2 separate regions of the Homo sapiens genome follow, and region 2 is linked to region 1. Evidence: promoter capture Hi-C in human tissues and cell types (Jung and others, 2019). All regions are on one chromosome and are shown on one strand. The core of a region is centred on a gene start or on the middle of the fragment in contact, and the rest is flanking DNA. Distances in the headings are between cores, read along the strand shown.

The links. Contacts are between HindIII fragments. The study calls those that stand out against the background at their distance.
Region 2: a contact is called between a fragment that was not itself captured here and the fragment with the promoter of YTHDF2 in region 1, in 1 of the 25 tissues and cell types used here (hippocampus).

The regions. Positions count from the first base shown.
Region 1 is chr1:28,732,810-28,739,396 of GRCh38, forward strand. YTHDF2 (YTH N6-methyladenosine RNA binding protein F2) reads left to right here and starts at 4,131. Exons shown (of 5, transcript NM_016258.3): 1 at 4,131-4,338; 2 at 4,849-4,873; 3 at 5,450-5,529. The coding sequence starts at 4,312. RefSeq lists enhancers at 2,048-2,947, 3,478-3,527, 3,847-4,745, 4,628-4,737. The HindIII fragment of the contact is 10,776 bases long and covers 1-6,587 here.
Region 2 is chr1:28,101,971-28,108,557 of GRCh38, forward strand. No RefSeq gene overlaps it. Among named protein-coding and RNA genes, the nearest start is that of EYA3, 17 kb to the left of the region's middle. The HindIII fragment of the contact is 4,559 bases long and covers 1,316-5,874 here.

The sequences.
Region 1 (6,587 bases), core at 2,881-5,380:
TTTTGGCCTGAACTTACTGCAACACTCTTCTAACTCCTAAATTACTCTCTTCTCCTTAAATCTACTTCCCACACTGCAACCAGAGTAAACTTCTTAAAATGTAAACCAGAGCCTGCTCTGCTCCTATTAACCCTTTATTATTATTATTATTTGTTAATTTATTATTATTTTTTTGAGACGGAGTCTTGCTCTGTTGCCCAGGCTGGAGTGCAGTGGCACGATCTTGGCTCCGCCTCCCGGGCTCAAGTGATTCTCCTGCCTCAGCCTCCCAAGTAGCTGGGATTACAGGTGCCTGCCACCACACCTGGCTAATTTTTTGTATTTTTAGTAGAGACGGGGTTTCACTGTGTTAGTCAGGATGGTCTCGATCTCCTGACCTCGTGATCCACCCGCCTTGGCCTCCCAAAGTGCTGGGATTACCAGCGTGAGCCACCGCGCCTGGCCTATTTTTATTTTTTTCTGAGACAGAGTCTCACTGTGTTCCCCAGGCTGGAGTGTGGTGGTGGGATCTTGGCTCACTGCAACCTCAGCCTCCCAAATTCAAGCAATCCTCCTGCCTCAGCCTCCCGAGTAGCTGAGACTACAGGCGCATGCCACCATACCTGACTTATTTTTCTCCTTTATGCCCAGTTCCTCGGTATTATCTAGTGCCACCCTCTCTCTCATGGTGCACCATCATGTTGGCCTCCTTCAGTTCCTCACCAGTGCCAAGTTCCTTCCTTGTTCAGGGCCCTTGCACATGTTGTTTTCTTTTCTTTTTTTTTTTTTTGAGAGAGGAAGTATCGCTGTTGTCCCCCAGGCTGGAGTGCAATGGCGCGATCTCTGCTCACTGCAACCTCTGCCTCCTGGGTTCAAGTGATTCTCCTGCCTCAGCGTCCCGAGTAGCTGGGATTACAGGTGCCTGCCACCACGCCCAGCTAATTTTTTTGTATTTTTAGTAGAGACGGGGTTTCACCGTGTTGTCCAGGCTGGCCTCGAACTCCTGACCTCAGGTGATCCGCCCGCTTCGGCCTCCCGCAGTGCTGGGATTACAGGCGTGATCCACCGTGCCTGGCCAGCACATGTTGTTCTTTTGTTTCCCTTCTCTCCTTGCCTGGCCTGTTTCTCCTCATCCTTTATGTTTTAGCTGAAGCTCATCTCCTCAGGGAAACCTTCCCTAGCTCCTCTGAGGAGGTTATACCTGTCTGTACTTCCTCATTGCACTTTCCACAACTGTAATTGAACAACTATTTGAATAGCTATTTTCATAGTCTCAGTTTCCCTGGCTAGTCTGCTTCAAGGAGAAATGAACTTTCTCCCCAGCACACTGCCTGGCCCTCAATAAATATTTGTTGAAAGAGAGACTGAATGCTTCATTTACCCAGCGGCAGAGCTGAACCTAGAATCTAAACATTTCCAGTACAGTATTATTTTCTTCAAACCATGAAATGACACCACATATTCCAACTTCCCCTCTCTCTTTCCAGTGATTAAATATTATCAGTCTTCTGGGTTCTGTTTCTTCAGGGGCCTGTTAAAAGCCATCATGGTAAACGAATCCAGGTTTAGAGATTACCCTTTTCCTAAGGATAATTTGCATTTTAACTGGGAACTTCTGGCAAACAGAAAGTCATCCCAAAGGAACTAATAAAAACTCCTGGCACCATTCTTTCTTGGAGGGAAAGAATTTTTACTTAAATCGCTTAATGGGATTATAGGAAATGAACTTACACTGTGCCACACATGCTTTAATGTCAGCTTTTAAAAAAATTTTAATTTTACTTATTTTATTTACTTTTTTGAGACAGAGTCTCGCTTTATCACCCAGGCTGGAGTACAATTGCGCGATCTCGGCTCACTGCAAGCTCCGCCTCCTGTGGTCAAGTGATTCTCCTGCCTCAGCCTCCCGAGTAGCTGGGATTCCAGGGGCCCACCACCACGCTCAAGCTAATTTTTGTATTTTTAGTACCGACGTGGTTTCACCGTGTTGGGCAGGCTAGTCTTGAATTCCTGACCTCGGGTGATCTGCCCTCCTCGGCCTCCCAAAATACTGGGATTACAGGCGTGAGCCACCGCACCCGGCTTTTTTTTTTTTTTTTAAAGTTTATCTTCACGACAAACCTGTTGGGTAGGTATCATTATCCATCATCCCCTTTATCAAATGAGGGAATCTAAGAAAGGTTTTAGTTGTTTACCCAGTATTGCACATCTGGGTGGGGAAACCATTATTTAGACCCTTTGTCTCCCAGCATATGACTTCTCGTCTAATGCTGTTTTTACAATGCCATGTTGCCTCCAAGGGTAAGTATAGGCAACCGCTTACAGTTTATACATAAATCTGGGCCATGGAGCTAAGTGGCTGATTATTATTATTTGTTATTTATTTATTTATTTATTTTGAGACGAGTCTCGCTCTGTTGCCCAGGCTGGAGTGTAATGGCGTGATCTCGGCTCACTGCAACCTCTGCCTCCCGGGTTCAAGCGATTCTCCTGCCTCAGCCTCCGATTAGCTGGGACTACAGGTGCATGGCACCATGCCCAGCTAATTTTTGTATTTTTAGTAGAGTCGAGATTTCACCATGTTGGCCAGGATGGTCTCGATCTTCTGACCTCATGATCCGGCCCGCCTTGGCCTCCCAAAGTGCTGGGATTACAAACATGAGCCACCGCGCCCGCCGTAGCCGAGTATCTTTAAAAAGAAGTATTACTAGGTTTATTCTATTCCCTTGATGGAATCTATGCTCCCAGACTTGACATTTTACTGTCTCCATTAAAAGTCCTTCACCTTTGGTGCCTGACCTTACTCATTCCTACCATAAATGTGATTATGGGCAGAGAAAAAAAGTGCTTTGAGCACTTTGACCAAATTATGATGTTAAATCCAAGATGCCATGTTATTTATTTTACCGAGTCCACCCAAGCCTCCTATATCCAGCGTGTGGATAGTACGAGGTTGACAATTAGTGCATTAGTTACCTGTTTACCACGACGTACTTGCAATAACAAAAGCTATTAGATGGGCTTTCCTAGTATCAAATATTCCTGCATGAGTTGGCTTTGCTTCTGATTGAAAATACTTTTGCCCATCCTTTGCATCTCCCCTATATTCTGGTTCCCTAATACAGAGTCTCGTAGGGGTAGAGAGATACCATTATGTTAGTGTCAGATACACCTGGCTATTTAATAGTTTTGTAAACTTGGGCACATTACTTAAGCTTTCTGTTTTTCCAGTCGTAAAAAACCGAAAGACTGATAGCGATTTTGAAGTTGTCGAAAGACTTTAATGTGTTTGAAAATACCTAACAACAAAGCCTGGCCCACAGCTGGTATTTCAATAATGTTAATTTCCTTGCTTCCCTCTTGAGGTCCTTAAGATTCATAGGTTCTCCGGACTCCTTGAAAGTTTTGTGTAGATGCATGAGGTGTATTTTTCTTGGAAATAAAGTCCACAATTTAACAGATTATCTTGGGGCCAGCGATTTCCCCGAAAATAAATTGTAGATTCTCCTTCCTGCAATGCTAAGGGGTGAATCTCTTTTGCGGGAGACTGGATTCTTTCGGTGTGTGTTTTGCTCTCTGGGTACTCTTTCTGTAGTCGGCTAACAGAGGATGACCAAGCCCCTCGCGGGGGCGGGGGCGGGTCACTCCCGGACAGGGCCCCCATGAAGTTTCCCTGGGGACTGTGTGACTCCCTAGGGGTCGGGTTACCTCCCAGATGGGGGTGGGGTATCACTTGCAGCTGGAAGGCAGGTTCATTTTAAGGTCTCGCGGGCTTCGGAGGCCCCTCCCTCACTGAGAAACCGGCTTTTGTCGTTCTTCTGAAGCCAGAGCTAGTCTTTCCAGGTGTTAGTCGAAACCTCGTGGTGCGACCCTGGTCGTCCCAAACCCCCTAGGCCTTAATCCTGGGGCGGTGGGGGCGGGGAGGCCGTGAGCACGGCTTCCGCTCCTCCAATCCGCCAGAGGGCGCAGCGGCCGGCCTCTCCCTTCCCGGGGTTCTTCGCGCCGGGCCCCTTCCGCGTGGGTGAGTGAATGTGAGAGTCAGCGCTCGCGCCGCGCGCGCCGCCCGCCTCCGCTGTTCGGCGCTCTGCTTTAGGCGGTGGGGGGCGGGCGCGCGCGTAAAAGCATAGAGACGGGCATTGAGCTCTTGGGCTAGAGCGTCGCCGAGTCGGAGCCGGAGCCTGAGCCGCGCGCTGTGTCTCCGCTGCGTCCGCCGAGGCCCCCGAGTGTCAGGGACAAAAGCCTCCGCCTGCTCCCGCAGACGGGGCTCATCTGCCGCCGCCGCCGCGCTGAGGAGAGTTCGCCGCCGTCGCCGCCCGTGAGGATCTGAGAGCCATGTCGGCCAGCAGCCTCTTGGAGCAGGTACAGGCCCGGCCCGCATGCCTCGGCCATTGTGTGAGGCGAGAAGGAGCCCGACTAGGCCCGGGCCCGCCGCTCCTGGGCAGGCCGAGCCGAGCCGAGGCGTCGTCTCTTGCGGGCCAGGTTTCGGGCCTCTCAGGCCGGCCGCGCCCGGCGCCTCTCCCTCAGCCTGTTCTTCCCGCTTCTCCTCGGGCCTCGGAGCCCACGGGCCGGGCCGCGCCGCGTTCCCTTCTCTCGGCGGGCCTCGTTTTCCTTCCTTGTTTCCTTCCCCTTCCTTAAAGCCCTGGGTTCCTCGCGTCGCCGGTGGCGCGTCTGCCGCGTTTTCTCCCCTGCCCCACGGGCCTGGCGCTTTCCCCCGCCTCCCATTTTCAGCCTCTTCCTCACTACCATTCCTGACGCCTCCCCTCGGGCCTGCTCCTTTATTCTCCCTTCGGGCCCTGCCTTAATTTGTTCTTCCTTTTCCATTTCTCCTTTGGACAACTTGCTGCTCGGCGACGTTTCCTTCCCCTGCAGAGACCAAAAGGTCAAGGAAACAAAGGTAAGTCCCGCTCCGCCGGTGGCCCTGAGCCGGGAGGGGGACGCGGGGCGGTGGGGGCGGGGTCTCCGGGAAGCGCCCCGGGCGGAGGACCTTTCGGAAGCCGCTTAGTTCGCAGGTGCCGCACACTTAAGTATTTTGACCCTTTCGGTGTGTTCTTGCAGCTGGCGAACAGCTTTTTCGCTAACAAGGAGTAATTCATTAAGGGTGGGGGTGGATTGGGTTTTGAAACGCTCCAGGTCCTTAGTTTCCTGTAGGTCTTAGAAGGCCTTTGTTTTTCATCCTCGTGGATCACTCTCTGGAAGTACTCTCATGTGATGGGGGAGGGGAAGCGGGAGGGAATGGAAATCCAGAGGAGCCAATAAAATGACCTTTTTAGATCAACTTGCTCTGGGTGGAGGGGGACATTTTCACTGGCGACTGTCGCTTCAGCATTCACTGTCATCTCTTACCCTTTTGAAGTTCAATCTTACGTGCTTTGTTAACTAGTAAGGTTTTTCTCTGGTTAGCATATATGAACTAATTTGAAAGGAAGATTGTAGGATTGGGACACTCCTAATTGAATTTTTTTTTCTTTAGTACAAAATGGATCTGTACATCAAAAGGATGGATTAAACGATGATGATTTTGAACCTTACTTGAGTCCACAGGCAAGGCCCGTGAGTAGTTAACTATTTACATATCTAATCGAAGGGTGTGGTATATTCTTTCTCCGCCTTCTACCAATAAATCCCATTTTCTGAGGATTCATTTTTTTTTCTTTTTTCTGTTTTCTGTTTTTTTGAGACTGAGTCTCGCTCTGACGCCCAGGCTGGGGTGTAGTGGCGCAATTTCGGCTCGCTCCAACTTCCGCCTCTCGGGTTCAAGCGAATCTCCTGTCTCAGCCTCCCGAGTAGGTGGGATTACACGTGTGCACCACCGCACACAGCTAGTTTTTCTATTTTTTTAGTAGAGACGGGGTTTCATGTTGGCCGGGCTGGTCTTGAACTCCTCAGGTGATTCACCCGCCTTGGCCTCCCAAAGTGCTGGGATTACAGGCGTGAGCCACCACGCCTAGCCGAGGATTCACTTTCTTAATACCTGTATTTTTTCTCTGCCCTCTATCAGGAAATCCCATGTTCTGAGGGTTCACCTCCTTAATACCTATTAATGTATTATAAAACAGTTAACTGCAAATGTCCTAGGCCGTTGAGATTCCCATCTCTGTAATATCAGCAACCATACTGTATTGAGAACGTAATACTGATAACACTCTACTGGCAGTAACATGTGCATGAATAATTGTCTTCTTCCTTACCAAGAATGTAGCAGTGCAGAATTTAGGGATTCTTACAGTGTTAAATATTCTGAATTTTCACCCCAGAGAACTTTGGATTCATATGATAGGGAAAGTTCTAATGTAAAATCACCTGAAGGCGGGAAGATCTCTTGAGCCCAGAAGTTTGAAGCTGCAGTGAGCTATCTACGATCATACCTGTGAAAAGCCACTGCGCTCCAGCCTTGGTGACAGAACAAGATCTGGTCTCTAAAAAATAGTCACCTGAACTTCATTCAGTGCTGCAGGACTGGCTGTCTTTCTTTTCTCTAGTTTATGGGTTCTTAGATTATCAGAACTATTTCGGAGTTAGGAAATTTTTTTTTTTTTTTTTTTGAGACGTAGTGTCAACTCTTGTCACCCAGGCTGGAGTGCAGTGGTGCAATCTCGGCTCACTGCAAC
Region 2 (6,587 bases), core at 2,345-4,844, 630 kb before region 1:
TGGCAGGCGCCTGTAGTCCCAGCTACTCGGGAGGCCGAGGCAGGAGAATGGTGTGAACCCGGGAGGTGGAGCTTGCAGTAAGCCGAGATCGCGCCACTGGACTCCAGTCTGGGCAACAGAGCAAGACTCCTTCTCAAAAAAAAAATAAAAAGACAAGGCCGAGGGTTAGTGAATTTCTACATAAGAGTTACCATAAAATTTAAGATACATCTAAAAGAATTCTGAACTATGTCATCATAAAAATAGACTAAGTCTTTTAATTAAAAAGACAAAGAGCTTTTCTATACTATTGAAATGCTTGTTTTAATAATCCCAGGGAGTATTTACTTGTAATCCTGAGGCTATTAATTTTTATTACAGCAAACTACATTTTTAAAAGAATGTTTAGTATAGGAAATGGTGGTTATTCATTCAAAGCTATAAACTATGTTTGTTTTGGAAGGTTAATTTTACTGCAACCTGGTGATAAATTAACCCACTCACTATGAGCTCACTAATCTAAATCTAATTAGCTTGGCCAGCGTAAAAGTCTAGACAGATTTTCTTAAATTTGGGAATACATCTAAATGCATTCCTTCATGTTAAAAAAAAAGTTTAAAAAGTTATAAGAAAATAAATATAAGACTCAAATAAATTAACTTTAAAGAGCAATGCAGGCCGGGTGCAGTGGCTCACACCTGTAATCCCAGCACTTTGGGAGGCCAAGGCAGGTGGATCACTTGAGGTCAGGCATTCAAGACTAGCCTGGCCAACACGGTGAAACCCCATCTCTATTAAAATACAAAAATTAGCTGGGCGTGGTGGCGCATGCCTGTAGTCCCAGCTACTTGGGAGGCTGAGGCAGGAGAATGGCTTGAACCTGGGAGGTGGAGGTTGCAGTGAGCCAAGATCACACCATTGCGCTCCAGCCTGGGCAGCAGATGGAGACTCTGTCTCAAAAAAAAAAAAAAAAAAGCAATGCAGAGAATGAAAGTCTGATACATGCTACAACACGGCTGAAACTTGAAAACATTCATTATGCTAAATGAAATAAGCCAAATACAAAGGGACATATATTACATGATTCCACTTACACGAGGTACCTAAAATAGGCAAATTCATAGATACAGACGGTACAATAAAGGTTCCCAGAAGCTAGAGGTAGGGAGTAATGGAGGGTTATTGTTTAGTGGTACAGAGTTTTAGTTCGTGATGATAAAAAAAAGTTCCAGAAATTGGCCGGGCGTGGTGGCTCACATCTGTAATCCCAACATTTTGGGAGGCCGAGGCAGACAGATCACGAAGTCAAGAGACTGAGACCATCCTAGCCAATATGATGAAACCCTGTCTCTACTAAAAATACAAAAATTAGCTGTGTGGTGGCGCGTGCCTGTAGTCCCAGCTACTCAGGAGGCTGAGGCAGGAGAATCGCTTGAACCCGGGAGGTGGAGGTTGCAGTGAGCCGAGATCACACCACTGCACTCCAGCCTGGCGACAGAGCAAGACTCCATCTCAAAAAAAAAAAAAAAAAGTTCCAGAAATTGATAGTGGTGATGGTTGTACAACATTGTAAATGTACTTAATGCCATTGATTTGTACACTTTAAAATAGTTAAAACTGTAATCTTATGCATATTTTACCACAATAAAAAATACTATACCAAAAAAATGTAAAAATTTTTTACATGACAGCTAGCCTAAACTCTTCAAAATGTCAATATCATGAAAAATCCACAAATGGAGGGGATTTAGACTAAAAGAGAGTAAAGAGACCCAATAACAAATTGCAATGAGTGAACTTTGATACAATCTTGATTTGGGAAAAAGTCTACAAAATACATTCTTAGGCCGGGTATGATGGTTCACGCCTGTAATCCCAGCACTTTGGGATGCTGAGGCGGGTGGATAACGAGGTCAGGAGTTCGAGACCAGCCTGACCAACATGGTGAAACCCTATCTCTACTAAAAATACAAAAATTAGCCAGGCGTGGTGGCGCATGCCTGTAATCCCAGCTACTCAGGCAGCTGAGGCAGGAGAATCGCTTAAACCCAGGAGGCAGAGGTTGCAGTGAGCCAAGATTGCGCCACTGCACTCTAGCCTGGGCGACAGAGCGAGACTCTGTCTCAAAAAAAAAAAATTCTTTTATCAATTGAGGAAATTTGAAAATGAACTAGCAATTAGAAGATATTATGAGGCAGGGTATGGTGGCTCACCCCTCTAATCCCAGTATTTTTGGAGGCCAAGGCTGGAGGATTGCTTGAGCCTAGGAGTTCGAGACCAGCCTGGGCAACATAGCGAAACCCTGTCTCTACAAATAATACAAAAGAAAAAAATTAGCTAGACATGGTGGCACCTGTGGTCCCAGCTACTCAGGAGGCTGAGGCAGGAGGACCACCTGAACCTAGGAGGTTGAGGCTGCAGTGAGTCGTGATTGCACCACTGCACTTCCAGCCTGGGCGACAGAGTGAGACCCTGTTTCAAAACAAAACAAACAAACAAACAAAACTTCCTGCTACCTAGATCCCTGGAGCTACCCTGTATGCTTTTTCTGAGGCTTGACGTTCAGCTTTCCTTCGGTAAGCTATCCCATATCTTTCCAATAAAATATTTTTGTTGTTGTTGTTATTAAGACCAGAATTGGTCACTGATGTTTTCAATCAATGAACCATGGCTGATCCAATGTCTTATCTATAAAAGACATAGAAAATCGGCATAGTGAAAATTCCTAGCATAAAAAAACTATTGCTTTTATGTAACAGTTTAATATTCTCCAGGCAAGAGGCAAATTACAACTTTGTGAAATGGGCTGTGAGCTACAAAACTAATAAAAATCATTCAGAGGTGAAAAGAATGAAAGGTGAGAGAGGCATTACATGTACTCTGCCTCTGGAATACAATTCCACTTCCCTACCAAAGAAGGCAATGGGAGGAGAAGGAAGCGGAAAGTAGAAAAAGCTTCTCCGGCTCCCCTGAATAGGAATCTGGCAATAATCTGGCTGCTATTTACTAGCATGCAGCATCCGAGGCACTGTGTTAGTCCTTCATATGCAGCGCCTCACTGACTTCTCCCAAGGGCACAATTATTATCTATCATTTGGCTATATATATTCTGATTCTCTCCACTTTACAGAAAACTGGGGCTCAAGGTTGTTAAATCATTAAGTCGAAGTCCCAGAGGTGGGAAGGGCGGGATCCAAACACAAGTGTGTGACTCCAGCGCTGGGGTAGGAGCACCTTGAAGGTGAAGGAGCCCAGCGAGCTGCAGCTTCCTAGTCCAGCCTCACGTCATCATCCCTGAGACCTAAGCTCCTCCCACTCAGATTCCTGAGCCAATCCGGAGAGAGGCCAATGGATATTGATAGACTCTGCATCTCTCCACCCTCTCTGAACCCAAGAGCTTTGTTTGCAAACTTGGTACAAAGCACTCAACTGCTAGCTTCCGAGGTTCCCATGAGTCACCTCTGCTGCCTGCAAGATCTGGGTCTGGATGAGCCCTAGCCACCCCTATACCCCACCCTCCCAAGTTATGGCACTTTGTAAGCCCTGCTTCTCTCTGTTTGTGTCATTTACCAGGGCTAGATTTCTCCCACTCCCATTCTCCGAGACTTAGTAAAGCCTAGTGGTTACATTTAGTAGGGTTACACAACAACCCTACTAAAAAGGCATGGTTATCATTTGTATTTTTAGGTTGAGGAGCCTGAAGATGAAGACTCTTACACACAGAAGCACAGACTTTGGTCTGCTTCACCACTGCTTCTGTGTATAAGATTTAGTTGGGGTTGCTGTGAGGATAAAATGCACTAACCTATATAACGTGTGTGTGTGTGTGTGTGTGTGTGTGTGTGTGTGTGTGTGTATTACAGTGCCTGGCACCTCGTAAGCACTCAGTAAACAATAGTTGCTATTCTCATTACTTTCATTGTTCATTGTTATCCCCATCCTATAGTCTGTCCAGCCTAACTTTCATCCCCATCTTCTGGTTTGGGGCCTAGATCTCCTGCCTCTTCTTGTCAATACATATTTTTTTTCTCTCTAGAAGTGAATCCCAACTCTGGGAGGACTCCCAGGTCACTGATGAGTCTTCTTCTGTTATACAGATCTCCCAGAATCAGGAGTTTGGCCTGCCTGACTTTTTCATTTATTAAACTTATTTCCAAGTGGATTTTTGTTGTGATGCTCACCAATTTTCATTTAGGACTTGAATGTAGGTAGTAGCCCCTGGGAGAATCAATAAAGGATGGGGGTACATGGGCTGGGGTTAGAGGCTGGACTCTTAAGTTAGCTGGGCCTGACCTGGCCCTTGCTGGCTGTGCTTCAGTTTCCTCAGCTACAAAATGGGGAGTTTTGGTCAGGTGCGGTGGCTCACGCCTGTAATCCCAACACTTTGGGAGGCCAAGGCAGGCACATCACTTGAGGTCAGGAGTTCGAGACCAGCCTGACCAACATGGTGAAGCCTTCCATCTCTACAAAAAATAATAAAAAAAAAATTAGCCAGGCATGGTGGCTCATGCCTGTAATCCCAGCTATTCGGGAGGCTGAGGCAAGAGAATCAATTGAACCCGGGAGGCAGAGATTGCAGTGAGCCGAGATCATGCCAGTGCACTCCAGCCTGGGCAACAGACCGAGACTCTGTCTCAAAAATAAATAAATAAAATAAAATAAAATGAGGAGTCTCTCTCTTTCAGGGATGTAGCAAGGATTCCATGATATAGTGTCTGGAAAGCCCATGTGCCTGGCACAGTGTAGGTATGAATGATGTCAGTTTCCTTCCCTCTTGGGCCCATCAGCAGCTTGAAATACTGCCAAAAGCATCTTAAAAGAGAGGTCCCATCTCTAAGGAAGTGGAAGGGTACCCTCTCTCCTGTTGCCCCCTCTCCTGTTGCCCCTTCTACTTTCTCCCCAGCCACTCCCTCCTTTCATCAGATGAAACTTTGTCATTCTGAAGTTGGGGGTGGGAGGTAGGGAAACAATGGGCAGAGAGGCTGTTCTGAGGGCCCCACGTGGCCCTCCCTGCTCGAATGCCATTTGGTCAGGAACCAGGCTTGCCATTTACAAAAACACATCCGTTCTGGAAACTACCACTTAAGGAAAAACTTTTTTGAGTCTTCAAAAACAGCAGTAAAAGGCAGGGCATGGTGGCTCACGCCTGTAATCCTAGCACTTTGGGAGGCCAAGGTGGGCGGATCACCTGAGGTCAGAAGTTAGAGACCATCCTGACCAACATGGAGAAACCCTATCTCTACTAAAACTACAAAATTAGCCTGGCGTGGTGGTGCATGCCTGTAATCCCACCTATTCGGGAAGACTGAAGCAGGAGAATTGCTTGAACCTGGGAGGCGGATGTTGCAGTGAGCTGAGATTGCGCCATTGCACTCCAGCCTGGGCAACAAGAGCAAAACTCCATCTCAATAAAATAAATAAATAAAATAAAACAAAAACAGCAGTAAAGATGATTAAAGAGGTAGAGAACAGGGCCTGTAGGGAAAACTCCAGAACCTGGATTGTTTAGGTTAAGGAAGTAAAGGCTGAAGGGCTAGGATGAGCTGCTGAGAAACAGTATTTGAGGAGGCAGAGCCAAATAGGACTGGTAAGTATATGCTATAGATTGAAAGGGGCGAGAGGAAGGGCGTTAAAAGGGTCTTGGCAAGTCCATTGATGCAGGGGCCTAAATTAGGTGGCTCTCCTTAAGAAAAAGAATGCAGAATTATAAATACAACATTACTAGGACCCTTCTTGGGCTTTAAAAGGAGTTTGTGCAGGTGAGGGGCCCTGGGGCTTAAACTCTGCTAACTTCACAGTGAATTTACCTCTAGCCAAGGGTGCAACAAGTGATCTGGTAACACAGGTTAGGGAAATGGTCTCAGAGCTTGATTGTTCTGGAAACTTCTTCTCTTCCCCTAATTCCTTCTTAGCTTGCAAAATGCAATGCAAGCCTGCCCTCCACTCAGAACTCCTATCAGACGTGGCCCTTCCCCACCATGGCGGTTTCATGCTTCTCCTTCATGCCTGCACCTATCACACACTCATTTGTACCACTCTGCTTGTGTATTAGTCATCTACTGCCATGTAACAAATTCTCCAAAATGTAGGGGCTTAAGACTATATCAATTCATTCTCTCAGTTTTAATGGATCAGGCATCCAGGCATGGCTTGGCTAAGTCCTTGGTCAGCGAAGGCTCAATGGAAAAGATCTGCTTCCTAGCTCACATGATTGTTGGCAGAATTCAGTTCCTCACAGGCTGTTGGACTGAGGCCTCAGTTCCTCAAGAGCTGCTAGCGGGAGGCCTCCCTGGGTTCCCTGCTACATAGGCCTCTCCATCAAGTAAGTGTGGCAGCTGGCTTCATCAGACCAAGCAAATGAGAGGGCAAGGAAAAGAGAGAGAGAGCTACCAAGATGGAAGTCACAGTTCTTTGTAACCTAATCACAGAAGTGACATCCTATCACTTTTGTCATATTCCATTCATCAGAAGCAATTCACTAGGTCCAGCCCATATTCATGGGTAGGGAATTACACAAGGGCATGAATATCAGGAAGCAGGGATCACTGGAAACCTTGTCGAAAGCCGCCACCACAACTGTCACTCCTTCTCATTAACTGTTGCCCTGC